Regions from separate parts of the Homo sapiens genome. Here regions 1 and 2 are each linked to region 3. The links are contacts of gene promoters, found by promoter capture Hi-C in human tissues and cell types (Jung and others, 2019). All regions are on one chromosome and are shown on one strand. The core of a region is centred on a gene start or on the middle of the fragment in contact, and the rest is flanking DNA. Distances in the headings are between cores, read along the strand shown.

The links. The method cuts DNA at HindIII sites, captures the fragments that hold promoters and counts their contacts. A contact is called where the count stands out against the background at its distance.
Region 1: a fragment that was not itself captured here is called in contact with the fragment with the promoter of ZNF423 in region 3 in 6 of the 25 tissues and cell types used here (H1 embryonic stem cells, adrenal gland, dorsolateral prefrontal cortex and 3 more).
Region 2: a fragment that was not itself captured here is called in contact with the fragment with the promoter of ZNF423 in region 3 in 2 of the 25 tissues and cell types used here (H1 embryonic stem cells and mesenchymal stem cells).

Annotation. Positions count from the first base shown.
Region 1 is chr16:49,756,095-49,760,575 of GRCh38, reverse strand. All of the region lies in intron 2 of ZNF423 (zinc finger protein 423), which reads left to right. Among named protein-coding and RNA genes, the nearest start is that of ZNF423, 98 kb to the left of the region's middle. The HindIII fragment of the contact is 3,131 bases long and covers 1,315-4,445 here.
Region 2 is chr16:49,920,664-49,925,204 of GRCh38, reverse strand. No RefSeq gene overlaps it. Among named protein-coding and RNA genes, the nearest start is that of ZNF423, 67 kb to the right of the region's middle. RefSeq lists silencers at 853-1,025, 2,008-2,191 and an enhancer at 2,868-3,599. The HindIII fragment of the contact is 3,414 bases long and covers 778-4,191 here.
Region 3 is chr16:49,854,494-49,858,591 of GRCh38, reverse strand. It overlaps ZNF423 (zinc finger protein 423), which reads left to right and starts at 2,480. Exons shown (of 8, transcript NM_001379286.1): 1 at 2,480-2,857. The coding sequence starts at 2,818. RefSeq lists a silencer at 2,977-3,236. The HindIII fragment of the contact is 13,140 bases long and covers 1-4,098 here.

The sequences.
Region 1 (4,481 bases), core at 1,631-4,130, 98 kb after region 3:
GGTCATCTTCGTATCCTCTATCCCTAGCACAGTTGGTTTTTCTTCACCCATTCATTTATAAAAATATATTGGAGGCCTACTGTGTGCCGAACCCTGACTCAGGTGCTGATGGGTCCGTGGCAAGTAAGGCAAATATGATTCCTAATCCCCTAGAGGATATGCTGGAGAGGAAAGCTCTTGTGAAAGGGTGACAAATTTATTCATTAGTTCATCCATCCATCCATTCATTAATCCATACATCTACCCACCCCACCCACCCACCCATCCACCCATCCATCCATTCATCAACCCATCCACCCATTCATCCATCCATTCATTAATCCATCCATCTACCCACCCCACCCACCCATTCAGCCATTCATCAGCTCATCTACCCATTCATCCCCTCATCCATCCATCCATCCATTCATTAATCCATCTACCCACCCCACCCACCCATCCACCCATTCATCCACCCACGCATCCATCCATTCATCAATCCATCCACCCATTCATCCACTCATCTGTCCATTCAGTCATTAATCCATCCATCTACCCACCCCACCCACCCATCCACCCATTGATCTACCCATCCATTCACCCATTCACTAAGCAAACACTAGGCACTGGGGTTACAGTGTAAGCAAGTCTAAAGTGATCCTGGCCCTTGGAGCTACAGCCCAGGGGAACACCCACAACTCGCAATCTCTCTAAAGAGAACCAGGGCCAAAGGGCAGGTGCAGCAGGGACCCTAGTCTCATCTGCACAGACAGGGCCACCTCCTGTGACGTCTGAAGGAGGTTGTGGAATTACACAAAAAAGGACTTTACACTTGGAATGTTAGGCACCCAACACATTCCAAACTTACAACACTTCCAGAGTTTTGGGATCTTAACTCTAAGCTGTCACAGGGGTTAAAAGCAGGAAGTTTCAGAGGGTGTCTGGATTTGCAGAAGTGCAACTCCATGCTTTTCAACAGCCATTGCCCTGCAAAGCGCACTCCTGGCTGAGAACTTTCATGAGTATGTGCTGCTCCTGAGGCTGCTGTGGTCCCGCCAGGGTTGTCTGTTAGGGTCTGTAGCACCTATCTGTAAGTTGACCCTGGGCTGGCTAGATGTCACCCTGCAGCCATTCGCTGGCTCTTGGGTTGCATTGCACCTAGGCAAGGGGATAGCAAGCTTTCCTTTTTTTTTTTTCTGAGGTGGCGTCTCGCCCTGTCACCCAGGCTGGAGTGCAGTGGCTCGATCTTGGCTCACCGCAACCTCCGCCTCCCGGGTTCAAGCGATTCTCCTGCCCCAGCCTCCCGAGTAGCTGGAATTACAGGTGTGCACCAACACACCCAGCTGATTTTTTGTATTTTTAGTAGAGATGGGGTTTCACCGTGTTGGCCAAGATGGTCTCGAACTCCTGGCCTCGTGATCTGCCCGTCTTGGCCTCCCAAGGTGCTGGGATTACAGGCGTGAGCCACAGCCACCATGCCCAGCCAGCAAGCTTTCCTTTTATTATTTTTTTAAAAATATGGTTTTATTGCAAAATGAAACACAGATCTAGAAACCCACAAAGTCAATGTAGAACTTAGTGAATTTTTATAAGGTGAACGCCATTGAAACCACTTCCCAGGTCTAGAAATAGAACTTTGCAAGCTACTTCGGAAGGCTTATCCTTGTTCCCCATCCCTGTTTCTCCTTCCAGAAAGAATCACTAGCTTGACTTTTATGGTGATCACACCCTTGCTTTGTTTTAAAGTTCTGTCACTCACGTGTGTACCCCTTGCCACTATAATTTAGACTTGGAGTGCCATTCTTTAAGGAACATGAGGGAGTAATTTTTTTTTGTAGTGATGATTATTTTACTTTTTTTGGAGACCACTCTGTCGCCCAGGCTGGGAGTGCAGTGGTGCCATCATAGCTCACTGCAGCTTCAAACTCCTAGACTCAAGCGATCCTCTCATCTCAGCCTCCCTAGTAGCTGGGACTGCAGGTGCATGCCACCATGCCTGGATATTTTTTAAAATTTTTGTAGAGATGGGGTCTTACTATGTGGTTCAGGTTGGTCTTGAAGTCCTGGCTTCAAGCGATTCTCCCTACTTAGCCCTCCAAGTAGCTGGAATTACAGGTGTGAGTCACCATGCCCAGCTGATTATTTTAAAAATTCTTTTGGTCAGGCGCAGTGGCTCACCCCTGTAATCCCAATACTTTGGGAGGCTGAGGGGGGTGGATCACTTGAGTCCAGGAGTTCCAGACCAGCCTGGCCAACATGACGAAACCCTGTCTCTATTAAAAATACAAAGATTAGCCAGGCATGGTGGCGGGTGCCTATAATCCCAGCTACTCGGGAGGCCGAGGCAGGAGAATCGCATGAACCCAGGAGGCGGAGGTTGTAGTGAGCTAAGATCATGCCACTGCACTCCAGCCTCGGTGACAGAGCGAGACCCTGTCTCAAAAAAACAAATTCCTTTCTAACAATTCCTGATCTGGAAGCTTCTGGTGATTAGGCTCCCGGGTAAACCATTTTCTACCTTTGGCAGGTGAAGGCGAGGCAGGAAGTGCCTACCATTTAGCAGGTGTTCACTCAGAGTTTGATGAGAGGCTGGAGATGCCAGGGATGTTTTACAGTCACCTGGGGAGGAGGTACCGCAGTCCTGAACCAGGGTGACCACAGGCAGGGGGACCAACAGTGTGGAGGGGAGGAGCCGAGGGCGGGTCAGGGGAGGATTAACATGAGGGGAAAGGAGATCCTGTGCGTCATTCTTTCTTTCCCTTTCTTTCCCCTTCAGTACACTGGGGGAAATTAATCTCCCACCTGCCACGGCAGGGAAACCTGAGTTTGCTGTTGGGGCTGTCCAGGGCACGTGGGGTGTTTGTCTTTGAGGCCTTTCTTCACCAGAATTGATGACAGGGGTGTATTTCCTGCTGAGCCGGGCTCCTCACCCCACCCAAGGGGGATTTGGAGGCAGGTGGTCACGTGTCTGGCTTGGTTTGGGTGTCCACAATAGCCTGAGGGATGTGTTGAATTTTAGAAGTTACTGACAGGTGAGTTCTATGGGAGAGGGCTATGGTGATTTTCAAATGCTGGGTCAACAGCATTCTGCAGTCCTCACCATGCAGGTGCTCCTCATGTCCTGGAAACTTAACTTCAAGCAGGTGGCTGATCAAGCCTTGCTGTTGGTAGGAGCAGGGGGCTGGCCTCCTTATTCACCTAATCTTCTCTACATGGGAACAGGATAGTGGTTTTATGACTCATTACTGAAGGCTCCCTTTGTTAGAAGTTCAGACTGTAGGAGATGTCGGTGTAGCCAGTTTTAAGCTGAGTCAGGAAGAGCATCACGAACCTATGGAATCTCCAATAGCACATGGAAACAGGAAAAAATGAGAATGGAAATTCTTGGCCTCATTTATAAATAAGCGTTGATTAAAAGTCTATTTTTTTGTCTTTGTTGTGGAGGACACAGGAGTGTTGGATTCAGTCCCAACATTGCACAGCGTAATGGAAAAGAAATAACTGTCATTGTGCATCGTGACAAGTAATTTATAAGAAAAACAAAAACACTTGCACAGGGCCAGTTGTCTATTGTGTGTTGGTGACACAAAATGGGACTTCTCACTATAGTTAGGTGGGGTTTCTGTCTTTTGGCAGGACTTTGGCTTTTAAAAGTGCCACACACTCTAGAAGAAAACAAGGAATTATGCAGCCATGTGGACATGGGTTCTGAGGCCTGTTCATGTCTGCCCCTCCCCGCGCATGCTGGCTTCCCCCCGCCATCTCGCAATGGACTTGTCCTCAGGGGTGCTCACAAGTGTCCGAACTCATCATGGGTGCTTCCCCCTGTTCTCAGCCCACCCATGACCCGTGCCTTTTTGCCCGTGTGCCCTGGGAGGTGGTGATGGTTGCCACCTCCTCCTTTCCATGCAGGTGAGAGCTGGGCTGGATGAGGTGGTCTCTTAGGTCCCTTCCAACTTGAAGCTTCCCTGGGTCCAAGCTTAAGGGATGGGCAGGGACCTTTCGAGACACGCATTTGGTGGGAAGATGCCCCTGAAAGGTGCCATGGAGTCATCTGTGGCAGTCCGGGTGCTCTTTGTCTAGGCCAGTGTTGGAACTCCGGGGAGGGGTCCAATTCCGTATCAGTGTGGCGGGGACTGGCCTTCCAAAAGGCTGTTTTCCAAGCGCTTGATGTTCATGCTGTTTTCATTCTAAGATGTGTATTTTGTCATTGCCTAACATTTCTGAAATTGGGAAGCATTTTAATGTCTGTATGTGTGTTTAATAAAATGACAGTCCCTCCAAAGAGAGAGCTGTCATTAAGATAGTGGTGGGCCACACACTTAGAGCCTCTTAGACCTCACAGGCTGTCGTAACTGGTGATAGGCGGCCTGGGCTGATGCAGGCTGCCCCCAGGATTCAAAACAGCAAGTCCGTTTTGAAAACCCTTGTCTCTGAAACCTTCCAGTCATCTCTGTGGGCTGTCATCTAATTTTGCTTAAACACTGCATTTGCCTCCCCTC
Region 2 (4,541 bases), core at 1,235-3,734, 67 kb before region 3:
TAAATATTCTTGCATATTTTGTTAGATTTATGCCTAATTCATTCTTTTGGGTGCTAATCTAAATGGTATTGTGTTTTTAATTTCAAATTCTACTTGTTCATTGCTAGTATATAGGAAAGTGACTGACTTTTGTATAATAACCTTTATCCTGCAACCTTGCTATAATTGCTTAATTTCAAGAGGAATTTTTGTTCCATTCTTTTGGATTTTCTGCAGTCAGAACAGTTTTTTAAAACTTATACCCTACTTCTTTGCTACTAAGATCTCATCTACCTAGTGACAGATTTTGTTGGGGAATGGGTAGGAGCTGAGAGGAGAAAAAGAGCTATCCTGCTGTGAAAGGTGCTTAATAATTGTAAAACAGATACTAATTTAAGGAACTTTAAAATATCATGTGAGAAAATATGCATCATAGATCAGTCTTTTTCCTAGAAGCACAGCGCACCCTGAACTCCTTCTTAGAGTAGAAGATGCATCAGTGTTGGGGCTTCATGGGTCCAGGTTGCCAGGGGTGGGATGCCAGGAGCTAAGACCCAGGCTGTCCAGGGAGCTATGGGTGTCTGGGCAGCCCCAGATCTGCATGGGGCCAAAAGCCTGGTGTTCTGGGATTGGAGATTCAGTGGTGCAGCTCTTGTCCACCCTGGGGCCTTTTTCAAGCAGCCAGTGTCAGGGGTCTCAGTCCACAGGTTGCCAATTGGTGCTTGTACTTTTTTCTGTGTTTGAGCATAAAATATCAACTTCTAGGCATGAAAGAGCCAAACAAATGAACACACAACAACTCAAGGATAACAAAACACCACTTTTTGCAGTGGACATGTGTGGTTTCCTTCTGCAGGGATTTTCGGTTCACAGCCCTTTGGAACATCTCAACCCCAGGGACTGACTTCCCAAGCCCTGGCTACAGAGGCCGTCATGTGACTTGGGCCTGGCCAATCAGCATATTCCGTTGGCTTAGCCTTGGTGATTGGTTCAGGGATGGTCCCGTGATTCCAGCTAGTCCAATGAGAGCTCTCCTCAGGACTTCTGCCAGGACTTCCTGGGAACCCTGCAGATGTACCTTTTCTGGTGGGACTGCCAAACCCTTAGGACGTCATCCTCGAACTGGGATCGGGTAGGGAACAACCTAAGGGAGAGGATGGTGAACCTGCCTGAGAGTGAAGACACAGAGGACAGCGCAGGCAAGGAGCAGGTTCCTGATATGATTGTCTGAGGCCCTGGGTCCTGGTGCTGGAAGGCAGCCGCACCCTGGCATTTTCAGATACTAGAACCAGCGACCCCCTTTCATACTGAATCCTGTTTGACTGGGTGTTTATCACTTGACTGACATCCTCTAAGAATTGTGCAGTGGGCCGTGTGCAGCCAGCCACCTCCTTCCGGAAAGACAAACTCTCAACTCTGTCAGAAAATGGGCTGTGTCTGTGCCTCTCTCTCTTTCCTAGAACCTGAGGACCTCCCTCCTGACTCCCCACACCTGGGGCTGACCTGCACGCCCTCCGAGCCACATTACCTGCGCAGCCTTGCCTGGCGATCGTGCTGAGCAGCACCTACCTGGTACGCAGCTGCTTGAGCATCCGTCTGTCTTTCTGTCTTCTCTTCTGGAGAATATGAGTCCTGGGGAGCTGGAGCCCAATCGGTCCTCCCTCCCCTACAGGCCTGGGCACCCTACCTGGCACTTGCCCGGTGCTCTGTGAACTGAATGGGAAAAGGAAAGCAGACCAAGTCACCTGGAAAGCAGGCATGGGACGAGGAAAGATCAGTGGTCTTGGAATCCAAAAGTAAAGGGCGGCATCGTGGCACTGCAGCTCTCCGGCTATTTGCTTGGGCAAATCCTGGCTTTCATCTCCAGCTGCCTCGTCCATGGCAGAGAGATCGTGGGTCTAACCCTCGTTGTGTCACAGTGAAAGCATGCTCAGGGCCAGCATGTGGAGCTCTCACAGAGGTTGCTCCTATTCCCTGGGCTTTCGCCCAGAGCTGCGTGCTTTACACTTGCAATCCCCTCCAAACCTCCCTGCTACTGGATCCGGAAGGCTCCATTTTACAGATGAGCAAACTAGACGCAGTGAGGTTGAGTCAGTTGCTCAATGCCACACAGCTGGTCATCGAAGAAGGCTGCCCTTGAGCCCAGATCTGCTCACCCCAGAGCCCTGGGTCCTAGCTTTTAGGCTCTGGTCTCTCTGAGGCTGGAAGGGCTTCCCTGAGCAGTGGCCAAGCCAAGAGGTGGCTTAGGGGAACAGTTTTGTTGTGGTTGTAGAGTCAGGGTCTCCCTGTGTTACCCAGGCTGGTGTCAAGCTTCTGGGCAAGTGATCCTCCCACCTCGGCCTCTTAAAGTGCTGGGATTACAAGTGTGAGCCACCACACCTGGCTGGCCTAGGAAAACTTAAACCCATCTCACATCTCCCCCAGCCCCTCCAACCCCTGAGTGAAATTTATGGTTCAGGTAAAGACGGTGTGCCTGTTCTTCAGCTTCAAGACAAGCCCTCAGCCCCTGCTCCTAAGGCAGACTGCCAATCTCCTAGCCTGTCCAGCCTGCCCCTACTCAGTGAGCTGATGAGACAAGGAGTGGGGCTGGGATCCTCTGAGCCAGACCACACTTGAAGCTTCCGGAGAGCCAACACAGGGAGATTCTGTCCTGGGCTCCAGGCCTTTCTGAGACAAAGCCCCTCCATCTACATGTCTCAGTTGGTGCCTGGTCCTGGGCGGCATGCAAGGCCAGGCTGTTTCCAGTTTTGAGTGTTCCTATGTGGTAAAAATGAAGAAGCATCAACACAAATTTCCACCTTTGTAGTGTACTTACATAAATAGCTTTCACAGATTAATGCTTCTAACACACAAATGGTGTGATTTAACTATGCCAGGGTACTTAGCATATTATTTTTTAAATTGATTTATAGGTCACTGAAGGGAGGCTGGCCTGGCAATGGACCGCAAGATTCAAGGTGGAGAATGTCCCTCGTTTCCATCCTGTTTCTGTGACTTGTATATGACAGTATTTAGGGAAGGTGAAAGGCATACCTTTGTGGCTCCTGTCCTGATAAGGTGGGCAACCAATTGCCACAGTCAGGGTTGGGGAGGGGCACAGGGAGGTGGTGGAGCCCTGCACCTTCACCCCATTACCTGTGCTGGAGTTCCTGCCATCGGAGGCTTCCTGAGAATTTCCAGCCACCAGAAGGGGGCAGACGGTGACTTCTGAAGCTGGGACACAATGGGTCTGTGAGGAGGCAGGCAAGAGGGGGTGGAGGCGCCAGGCTGAAACCACCACCTCCACCACCTTGGGACAAGCTGGGCCCCCATCAGCTGGGCTTGGCTCTCCGGAAGCTTCAGGTGTGGGCTAGCTCAGAGGATCCCAGGCCCACTGCTTGTCTAGTCAGGTCACCAGATTGGGGAGGGCTTGACAGGCTAGGGGGCTGGCAGTCTGCCTTAGGAGCAGGGGCTGGGGCTGGTTTTGAAGCTGAAGAACAGGCACATTGTCTTTACCTGGACCATACATTTAACTAGGGGGTTGGAGGGGGCTGGTGGAGATTTGAGGTGGGTTTAAGTTTTCTGAAGCCAGCCAGGTGCAGTGGCTCACACCTGTAATCCCAGCACTTTGGGAGGCTGAGGTGGAAGGATCGCTTGAGCCCAGGAGTTTGAGACCAGCCTGGGCAACACAGGGAGACTCTGTCTCTACAACAACAAAAACGTTCCCCTAAGCCACCCCTTGGCTTGGCCACTGCTCAGGGAAGTCCTTCCAGCCTCAGAAACCCCCAGAGCTGCCGAATCGTCCCGCATGGAAGACAGACACAGATGCAAGTGTCTAAATGCCTTTGTGCATCCTGGTTCCAGGTGGGAGGCGCTGGGAGATGGGGGCCTCTCACTTAGAAACTGCCTCCCCTCCCAAACCTGGACACATGGCCCACTGCTACACACCACCACCACCAGTGTTGGCTGTCGCAGGACGCCGAGGGCCTGTGGTATGTCTGGAGCTTCCTCGTGGACAGGCCTTTCAGCAGTGTGCCATGATGGGCCCAGTCCCTGTTGAAATTGAGTCCTTTGTGGATTTCCTAAGCTACAAAGCAACCCCAGCCCTGGGATATCTCAAAGAGAATTTTTAAATGACATGAGCTGGACATGCAACCACAAGGTGTCTGCCCAGATTAAGGCGAACTCCAGCATGGGCCTTTGAAGGGCACTCGATTTCCCAGGGTGAAGATGGATTTCCACAACAGAATTCACAAAAGCCTCCCCAGCCCACACTCGTCCACTGGGACAGGGCTCACTGTCCCTGGGGGCTGCGGGGAAGGTTCCAGGATAGCAGGTATTTTTCACATCCCACCATACACTGCTGCCCAGGCAGTGGTACCAGCACCAGAGTCCCCGGACCTGTGTCTGCCCTAAGTGTCCTGCCTCCATGCTGTCCCTTCTCAGCACAAGACCCACTGTGTGTCTAGCCCCCCACCCCACTGGTTACATATCCATGGCTCCTGCAGCCTCAGAGCAAAATCCAGACGTTTATTGTGTTTCTGTGTGGCCTCCAGCCTCTCCACTTCCTCCCTCCACACACA
Region 3 (4,098 bases), core at 1,231-3,730:
GGGGACGTCTCGGTCCTGGCCTCCGCCCCTCTGGGGAGCCTCGCTCGCCCGCTGCCGCTGTCAGGGTGTCCAGCTAGGCGTCGCGTTTAGCCCGTCACCCGACTCTACCTCTGAGACTGCCTAGGGCGCGCGCGCCTGGCCCCCCTGCCTCAGGCCTCTCCGCATCCTCCAGCTCGCGCTCCCCAGCCGCGGGGGTGCGTGGGTGGCATCTACCTCGGCAATCAGCCCAGCACGGGGTTGGCGAGCAGGGCCCGGCGGGACCGCGGAGAGAGCTGAGCGGGGCCGGGCCCGGCTGGCCGGCAGGCTGGGGAGCGGCGGGGCGCGGGCACCCTGCGTGGGGCGGGCGCCGCGGCCCGGCCGGCCCCGGCGCTGTTCTCGGCGGGCAGCGGGTTTTTCCGTGAAAGGTTGCCCTGGGTAACTCGTCTCCGAGGGGACGTAGCCCTCCCCTCTCCAAGTGGCAACTTATCGATCCGAGAGATTGATAACCCCCAGCGCCGCGCCGTGCACCCGCTCCGTTCTCCTGGCTCCGGGGCGCGCCGGCCCAAGGTGGCGCCACTCACCCGGGAGGGGGGCGAGGTCGGGGCCGCTCCCCACCCGAGACCTGGCCGCCTGCAGCTAGTTGGGGAGGGAGAGGCTCCGAGGAACGGTTTAGGGGAGCCGTCTGGGGAAGACTTTTCCCAAGTCAGAACCCTTCCCGGGCCTGCCCGGAGACCAGAGTCTCAGCCGGTTCAGGAGCTGCGGGGGACGCGCGGCGCCCCCTGGCGGCTGGGTAAAACCTCGCAGAAAGTAGCAGCTGGTTTATTTCTTCTGACAACTGCGCGGGGAGGGGGTGCTCCTGCAAGGTCTCAGGGGTAAGGTGTTCCTTTTACAGTCGGACAGAGGAAGTGCACACCAGGCGCGAGAATTCTACAAATAAGGGTGTAGGGGGCGCACGGGGTTAGCCCAGTGGTGGAAGAATTTGTTGGATGTGGGGCAGGGGTGGTCTTTGAACACCGACCGGTGGGCAAAAGCCAACCTGGCAGAGCCAGGTCCCTGGATAGTTCATGTGCGTGAGGCATACATCGCGAGGTGGCAATACTAGGGCAGCCCAACTCCGTTTGCTCCCCCATTCTTTCACTTTTTACAGTTTGTGAGGCTCATGCGTCTTGGCGAGCTTGACAGCCGCGTGGGCCCTAAGTGTGTTCCCTCCTCCTGCCCCCGGTGCAGCCAGCGCCCGAGCCCCGGCCCCGCGTGCTGGTGCGGTGCCCGCGCCCGCGCCGTGCCTGCCGCCGCCGCCGCCGCCGCCACCACGGTCCGGGTTTTGCGGGCGGCCGGAGCTGTATTTCCAGCGCTGTCCATCGCTCGGTGCTGTTGGCCCTCTCTCCGTCTGATCCGAGCCGGAGCAGTGCGGGGCGCCCCACGGGATCAGAGCGCTCCCCCGCCGGGACTCCGCTCCTCACATCCTCCTGCTGGGACCCGGCTACATTTCCAGCCAAGCCTGGCTTTATTATGTGTCTCTGCAGTGCAGCCCCAGCAGCCGGATCGGGAGGAGGAGAGCCAGCGACCACAAAGAAGACAGGAGCGCGAGGGAGGCTGGCGGGCGGGCCGGCGCCGGCTGGAGCGCGGAGGAGCCGGGGCGCAGCCGCCGCCGCCGCTGCCCAGGAGGACGGGAGCCCGGCCGCCGCCGCCGCCGCCTGCTCGTCCTCCTCTTCCGCCACCGCGGCCGCCGCCTCCCCCCTCTCCGAGCCCCTGGCCCATGGAGGCAGCTAGCGGGGCCGGCGACTTGGCACCGGCCTGGGGATCGGCTGCGCGCCTCGCGCTGAGCACCGCAGCCCGAGGGCAGGCAGCGGCGGCCCGGCGCACGGGCTGAGCGATGCCCGGGGCACGGGCGCGCCTGCCGGCCGCCGCCTGAGCGCCCCCGCGCGCCCCTTCCTCCTCCGGGGGGCCGGCGCCGGGCCGATCCGAGAGCCAGAGAAGGGGGCGTGAGCCAGGGGCCCCGAGCCGCGGCTTCCGAGCCACTGCGGCCGTTTCGAGCCTCCCCTCCAAGTAGGCTGAGTTGAGGGACCCCCGCCCCCCATCCATCATAATCTCCAAACCAGGCGCTTGGGCATTTTTGAGCCATTAATATTTATTATTTTTTTTTGTGCGGCAGGGGATAATTCGAAGGCTTCTTTTTTTTTTTTTTCCTGGGGGGTACTGAGCTTCCGCGCTCCCGACCGCCTCCCGGTCTCCTCCCCCCTTGAGATACCCTCGACTCCAGCCCCGTTCCCCCTCCTCAGATGGGTTCATTGTGAGCTCCGCACCGGGCTGCGTGGCCGGACGCCTGCAAACTTTGCACAAAAATCCGGCAAGGGGCGGAGGAGGAGGAGAAGGAGGAGGAGGGTGAGGGTGGCGGTAGGGTGGGGGAGGGAAGGAGGGGGCCGCAGGGGCCGGGGGCCGGCGGGGGGTTGGGAGGAGGAGGGGGGCGGCTTTTTTTTTTTTTTTTTTTTTTTTTTTTTTGCATAACTCGGCTCGGCCGAGTGGCCTCCGGACTCCCCGCGCCGCTGGGACCGCCGCTTGGATCGGGAGCCCCGGACTGCCGCATTGCAACAGGCAGGGCCCCGGCGCGCCCCCCGGGCCTCCCCCCGCCTTCGAGCGGCCTCGGCCGGCCCGGGCTGCCCCCCCAAGGGAGGCCGCCCCGGACCTGCGGTCCGCTCCCCACAGCCGCCAACCGGGCTGCAAAAAAAAAAGTTTCCAAGAGACAGGCGGAGGAGAAGGGGGAGAAGGGCTGCCCGGAGCGGCGGGGGGCGGCGGGGGGAGCCGGCTGCGGAGGGCGACGGAGCGCCCGGAGCCCCGGACATGTCCAGGCGGAAGCAGGCGAAGCCGCGCTCGGTGAAAGGTGAGCGAGCGAGGCCCGGCGGAGGCGCGAGCGAGCGAGCGAGGAGGGAGGGAGCGAGGGAGGAGGGACCGGCGAGCGGGCTGGCTGCCGGGGACCCGCGCGAGCGAGCCGAGAGGAGGAGGAGGAGGCGGCAGAGGAGGCGGAGGCGGAGGCGGAGGCGGAGGAGGGGGAGGAGGAAGCCGGGAGCAGGAGGCGGAGGCGGCGGCGGCGGCGGCGGCGGCGGAGGGGGTACGCCGCGGACACCCTCCCTGCCCGGACTCGGCGCCGTCGCCCTTGGGGGACCCAGGCCTGGGGGCGCCGCTAAGGGGCCCTTGCCGCTCCCTCCGTGCGGGGCCCGGGCCCGTGTGGCCAATCAAGGGGTGCTGGCCCGACTTGGCGGGGATTGCGAATCTCGGCGGCGGCGGGCGGGCGACAGGAGGAAGGAAGAGGCGGCGAGGACGGGCGCCCGGCAGGCCGACCGCTCCTCGCTGGCCCCGGGCCTCGCTGGCTCTCTCTGGCCCCTGCCTGGTCGCCCGAGGACGCGGGGAGCGGCGGGCGCTGTCGGCGAGCGCCCCGGGCGCCGCGCCCTCGCCCCGGCCGCCTGGCGCCCCCTCCCGCCCCTGCCCAGGCCTTCTCCCGGCCCGGGCCCCTGCACTTCCTGCCTCCTCCACCGAGGCCCACCGGGCAGGGAGCCTCCGCCAGGAGTTCATTGTCTGCACGGCGCCGGCGGGACGCAGGTCCTCAGGGGAGCTCAGCGGCCGCGGTGCGCGCCCCTCCGCGGAGGGCGCCCCGGATCTGACCCCGGGCACCGGCACCCTGGATCTGACCCCGGGCACCGGCACCCTCGACACCCAGGCCGGCTTTCTGTGCTGGCTCCCCGGGGTGCGCGCGTTTGTGGGGAGCTGCAGATATATAGATACACACACCCATCCCTTCGTCTCCACGCTTTGCTTTCTATTTCCAGCGAGGGCCCCCAGCTCGAGGGGACCCCTGGAGAGTAGAGGCCCCGGGGAAAGGCCGCGCGCCGGCAGCAGAGCCCCTCCCCTGGCCTCCTCTCCCCGCGGCTGGCCTTTCCAGGCCTTGCCTGCTGCTTTGTCCCGATTCTAGCCCCTCGGTTGGGTGCCCGGGCGCTCGGCTGTGAGATGGGAGATGATCGAGGAAGGGGGGAACGATGAGAGCGGCTAAGTCTACGGAGCCAAAAGCCCCCAGGCCCTTGTCTTCTCCCATCTCCCCTGATGACCTCTGGCCTGAGCCCAGTTCTG